2 separate regions of the Homo sapiens genome follow, and region 2 is linked to region 1. Evidence: promoter capture Hi-C in 16 types of primary human blood cells and fetal thymus (Javierre and others, 2016). All regions are on one chromosome and are shown on one strand. The core of a region is centred on a gene start or on the middle of the fragment in contact, and the rest is flanking DNA. Distances in the headings are between cores, read along the strand shown. Region 1 holds the start of RAVER1 (ribonucleoprotein, PTB binding 1). Region 2 overlaps DNMT1 (DNA methyltransferase 1).

Region 1 (2,739 bases), core at 240-2,739:
GCTAGAGTGTAGTAGCACAATCATAGCTCACTGCAGCCTCAACCTCCTAGGCTCAAGTGATCCTCCCACCTCAGCCTCCTGCGTAGCTGGGACTACAGGCACGCACCACCATGCCTGGCTAATTTTTAAAAATTTTTTGTAGAGATGAGGGTTTCACTATACCGCCCAGGCTAGTCTCGAACCCTTGGGCTCAATACAGCCTCTTGCCTCAGCCTCTCAAAGTGCTGGGATTAAAGGGATGAGCCACCATGCCCAGCCTCTCAAGCCAGCTTTGAAGGCAAAGTGCTGGCGCCTGCTGGGACCAGACACACTGTGCATCTTGCAGGAGAGACAATGTGTTCCCAGCTGAGAGACTGCAGACACTGAGAGGAAGACCCAGAAAGAAACCTGACCATCCTTAATGATCCCTGTCCCGATCTGTCCCCAAATTCAGCCCCTCCCAACATCCCTGGGGTTCCACTAGCCACGTGCCCACCCGGTGTGCTGGTGGGCCGGAGAGCAGGGAATCTCAGCAGCAGGAAGCGAGAACCTATTTCACCGCCATAGGGCAGGGCAGTATAGATGCCATTTCCCTGGGTCCAAAGAGCATTGGGAAGCGCTGCCCCATGCTGGCCCCATGAGAAGGGCACTCCTAGCAGGAAGATTAGCCACGAGGGGCTCCATAGAACACAGGCCTCGCTTCCTTCCTGTAGGTCTGTAGGCTGGTGGCAGAAGACCCCATTTTCCCAAATTAATCCTGAGGTTTTGGGGGCTGAGACCCAGGGGCTGCTGTTAACTTCCGGATTTATCTCTGAGAGCAGTGAATAAACGCGTGATATGGAGGGGCGTACTCTCCGCAGTCCTGAAACTTCTGGATGTGAGGTCCCGCCACCCTGTGGTAGAGTGGGTGGAGAAAAGCATCATCCAAGCAGGGGGCAACTGGTGGTCCAATGTACCAGCCCATTCACAATTCCCCAACAGGACCAAAGCTGTCCGCCCCCTTCCATTCCCCGCCCGCTTCCATCACTTGGTGTCGCCCAAGCCTGTGGTCGCCCCTAGCAACGCCCTCCCTCACTTCGCAGTCGGTTTCCCCTTTCATCATCGCCCCCCCACGTCCCGCTCTTGGTCTCTCCCGATCCCGCGTGGATCCGGTGCTTGGGCGCCCCCGCCAACGACCCCCGCGCACCTCAGCGTTGGTGTCGCCCGGTTCCCCCCGCGCACGCGCACCGTGGTATTTCCCGCCACGCTCCTACACCGCCCCCCCCAATACCTGGTTGGTCACGTCCCCCGGGAGGCCCCGGATCAGTATCTTGCGGCGGTTACGGAACTGGCGCTCGGTGTGTTCCAGGCGTTTCCGGATCTCTTCTGGATCTAGAGGCGGCAGCTCTTCTTCCGGCGCCCGGCGCTCCGCGGCATCGCCGGCTTCGACTTCGGCCCCAGACTTAGGGCTCAGCGGGGGCCGGTGAGTAACGGACACGTCCGCCGCCATCTTGGGAAACCCGGCGCCTTCTGGGACCAGCGAGCCGGGGCGGAGCGGCATAGAGCGGCAACGAGGGCGCGCCCGTCGATTGGCTGGGAGAAACCCCACCTCCTTCCCGCCCCCCTTGCCCCGTTGGCTAAGCCCCAGCCCACCTCTCAAGAGTTCAAGCTGCGTCTGCGCGCCACAGGCCCCGCCCCCTTCCGTCGCAGCGACGCTACTCAGTGGATGTGCACCTGGGTGGGAGAGACTTGCAGCGCGGGTGGAATCAAACCACAGATTAGGGAGTTTGAAGGCTTTATTGGTGCGGAATCTGAGGGCACAGCCAAGCCCCCGCCAACTTTGATCCCGGATCCCAGCGTCACTCAGCTCTGGACGGTTCTTCCCCCATTGCTTCTGTCGGCTGCATAGACGTGAGGGGCAGATAGGTGCTCTCCTCCCTAACATGGTAACTGCCGCTCCGTTGGTGCTCCCTGAAGACGTACATTAAGGCCAGTACGATAGTCACCACGCCCAGGGTCAGTAACACCGCCACGAAGACGGGGACAAAGTGGGAGCTCCCAGCTGTGCAGAGAAAGCGCTAAGTCAATATGCGTCCCTTCTGTCTCCAACCCCCCCGCCCCCCGGCTTACCGGTCCAGACCCGCAGCCCCGTGTTAGCTCACCCTCAATGTCCATCACCACGACCAGGGTGTATTTGCCTCGTGAGCTGGACGCTTGGCACTGATAAGTACCATTATGTGTTACGTTGACGAAGAACGGGATCCCCACCGGCACCTCCCGGCTGGAGCCTTCCTTCAAACACCGCAGCTCGGGGTACGGGTTGCCCCTGGCTTGGCACTGCAGGACGTGTCTCGTTTTATCTTTCCATTTCAAGTGCTGGGGGCATGTGGCTCGGTCAATTTTGGGACCATCTGTGGAACCACCATGTGTGATCAGACACCCAACACACCCGAGGCACAGTGGTGCAGAGGAGCGTCTAATCTTTCCAGGGCAGGGGTGGAGGGATTAAAGGTCAGGGTGACCGACTCACACAGGACTCGCAGCTGGACGCTACTGTTCCTGTGCAAGAACTCGCCGTCCACCTCGAGAGTGGCACTGCAGAAGAAGCTGCGTCCGTCGTCACTCTCGGTAGCATTTAGCTGAAGTTGAGCTGGCTGCCCCGGGGCCGCGGCCGGAACTCCGTCCAGCGTGACCTGGACTCGAGCCCCAGCCATGCAACTCACGGTCACTGTGGACCCCTCATGGGCGGTGGGCTCGCTGAGGTTCACAATGGGTCCTAGG
Region 2 (2,739 bases), core at 94-2,593, 200 kb before region 1:
GAGGCAGAGATGGCACCTCCTGTGCAAGGGGCCCCCTGGGGTGGAGCAGCCAACAATCCTCGTTCTCTGGGCACTGTTTTTATTATTAGTATTATATGTCTCGCTCTGTTGCCCAGGCTGGAGTGCAATGGCATGATCTTGGCTCACTGCAACCTCTGCCTATGGGGTTCAAGCGATTCTCCTGCCTCAGCCTCCCAAATAGCTGGGATTATAGGCGTGCGACACCACGCCCGGCTAATTTTTGTAGTTTTAATAGAGATGGGGTTTCACCATGTTGGGCAGGCTGATCTCGAGCTCCTGATCTCAAGTGATCTGCCTGCCTTGGCCTCCCAAAGTGCTGGGATTACAGAGGTGAGCCATCGTGCCTGACCTGCTTTTATTATTTATTTATTGTTTTTTTTTTTTCTTTTTAGAGACAGGGTCTCACTCTGTCTCCCAGGCTGGAGTGCAATGGCACAATCACAGCTCACTGTAGCCTCCTCAACCTCCCAGGCTCAAGTGATCCTCCCGCCTTGGTTTCCCAAAGTGCTGGGATTATAGGTGTGGGCCATGAACCCAGCCTGCTTTTACTACTCAACATGGTCAGCAGCTACCTTCTCTGGGACACCCAGGCTTGGTGTGTCTGTGCCCTGCCCTGGCCTCCAGGTTCACAGGCCAAAGGCCCAGGGCTCTGCCTTCCTTCCCCTCAGCCCACCGGGAACCACAACTTACAGGACCCACCTTCCACGCAGGAGCAGACCCCACGGAGGGCCCCAGAGCTGCTGCGGCCGTTCTTCCTGTCATGGTGGGTATACCGCAGCTTCCTGGCCATGGTGCCGTCTGAGAGCCGCACCTCGATGTTGGGCAGATCGCGCCAGTCTGACCCTGGGGCCAAGGGGATGTGCCGCATGCGGGCAGCCACCAATGCACTCATGTCCTGAAAGAGTGTGGGGGGCCCAGCTGTCACCTCATGTGAGCAGCATCCGAGCATCCATGGTGGGCTGGGAGCTGGGAACACCATGGTGACCAGGAAGCCCCCTGGGGCTCACGCCCATCGGGAAAGAGACAGTCAGGGATATCGCACTTGGCTCGAGGCCACGGCAGGGACCTGAGGCAGCGCAGGTGTAGGAGAGCGTGGGAATCTAAGCTGAGCCTTTAGGGTGGGGGAAGGGGAGTGGTGCCAGGGGATGGTGAAAGGGCTGGTCTTGGCATCCTGGGAAAACATGCGGGGAGAGGCAGCAAGGGGGAAGGCAGTGGTGGGTGGGCAGTGGCTTGACACCATTCCAGACCAAGTCCAGGACTGCGGGAGCTCTGACACTTCCCATGACCATGCAAGAGAGACCAGGGGTCACACAAAGGCTGAGGACTCGGGAGGAGGAGCCTGGGATCAGATTCCATGTCTCCCCTGAGTCTTGGGCAGGCTGACTGTTCCCACGAGGCTGCTGGGCTGGGCCTCGAGGAGGAGCCGCTCTGTCAGGGTGCCATTACCTTACAGATGTGGTCCCTGAGGATGGGCTGGTACTGTGCGCCCCGGAGCTGCCTCTGGAACCAGGACTGAGGCTCCCCGTTGTAGGAGATCTCCAGTGCCGAGGCTCCATTCCGCACCTCCGGCAGGTCGGACATCGTGTCTCGCACCGTGATGGTCCGGAAAGGACCCGAGCTCAACCTGCAACAGAGGAGGAGGTCAACACCTCTGGAGATGCACGCAGCAGCTGTCCCCTCATCACAGGTGCCACCCCCTGCCTGCTCAGATGGCCTTCTCCCGAGATCACAGCACTGCCCGAGGTCACATGGGTGGCAGTGTGCCTGGATGCCATCTGGAAGGGGGGATGGGGCTATGGCGTGGGCTTTGTGGATGACCACAGCCAAGCATGCGGCTGGCCGCTCTGCACATGCTATCTACTAGGGAAGCAGATGATGCAGGGTCAGAACTGGAGACCACAGGTGGCAGAGTGCCATGTGGCAGAGCACCGTGTGGCAGGGCAGATGCTGTACCATCCTCTCCTCCCCAAGCCTCACCAGGGAGTACTCACGGGCCCCATGAGCTACTGAGGCCTGCTCGGCAGTGTGTGGAGGAGCGACGGGGGCCACCTACCTGGTTATGTTGCTCACAAACTTCTTGTCATCCACCACCACGCTCAGCTGGCAGGCCCGGGGAGCAAACACGTGCAGTGGCTCCGGGAACAGAGGGAGCTTCTCTCCAGGGGCCGCGGCCAGGATGATGGCCCGCCTCCTAGTCTGGGCCACGCCGTACTGACCGGCCTGTGGGGGAGAAGGACGGACAACCCCACCGTCAGTGGGACACTCCCAACTGGACTGGCCAGACCCAGGCCCAGGGTCAGCAGCCTGAGTCGGGAGTGGCTGGCCAATGCGGAGTGCACTTGCAGAAATCCCCAGTTACCTCAGCAGGCGTGCTCCTGGTCAGAGGAGTTTGGAGCAGATAAAGAACAAAAGCAGCTGAGCCCAGGGGACAGCCACTGGGGAAGGTGGGAGCAAACCCTGCGGGGAAGTCCGGCCAGCTCTGAAAGCACTGCAAGGGCCCCAAGGTCTTAGCACTCGGGGAGAACACTGGAGACCAGGAGCCCTGTCGCTTCCCTGATGGCTGTGGTCACAAGGACAGAGAACGTGGCTGCAACAAGTCTTGTCTGGTGAGCCTGAGTCGCCCTGAGGCTGAGCTAGGGGACCGGGTAGCCAAGTGCTTGCCCACTTAGGCAGACATCCTGTGCTAGCATCTGGATAGCTGTTTCATTTTTAATTATG

Evidence for each region. The method cuts DNA at HindIII sites, captures the fragments that hold promoters and counts their contacts. A CHiCAGO score of 5 or more calls a contact.
Region 2: a contact is called between a fragment that was not itself captured here and the fragment with the promoter of RAVER1 in region 1, in 1 of 17 cell types (erythroblasts). The highest score is 5.7, in erythroblasts.

What each region holds. Positions count from the first base shown.
Region 1 is chr19:10,332,040-10,334,778 of GRCh38, forward strand. It overlaps RAVER1 (ribonucleoprotein, PTB binding 1), which reads right to left and starts at 1,490. Exons shown (of 13, transcript NM_133452.3): 1 at 1,250-1,490. The coding sequence starts at 1,468. ICAM3 (intercellular adhesion molecule 3) reads right to left here. Exons shown (of 7, transcript NM_002162.5): 5 at 2,489-2,739; 6 at 2,121-2,369; 7 at 1,737-2,020. The coding sequence ends at 1,818. RefSeq lists enhancers at 1-883, 884-1,800, 1,291-1,510, 1,751-1,890, 2,515-2,739 and a silencer at 895-1,118. The HindIII fragment of the contact is 8,385 bases long and covers 1-2,739 here.
Region 2 is chr19:10,136,365-10,139,103 of GRCh38, forward strand. DNMT1 (DNA methyltransferase 1) reads right to left here. Exons shown (of 41, transcript NM_001130823.3): 35 at 2,075-2,241; 36 at 1,468-1,645; 37 at 721-916. Among named protein-coding and RNA genes, the nearest start is that of EIF3G, 18 kb to the left of the region's middle. RefSeq lists an enhancer at 1-276. The HindIII fragment of the contact is 6,913 bases long and covers 1-2,739 here.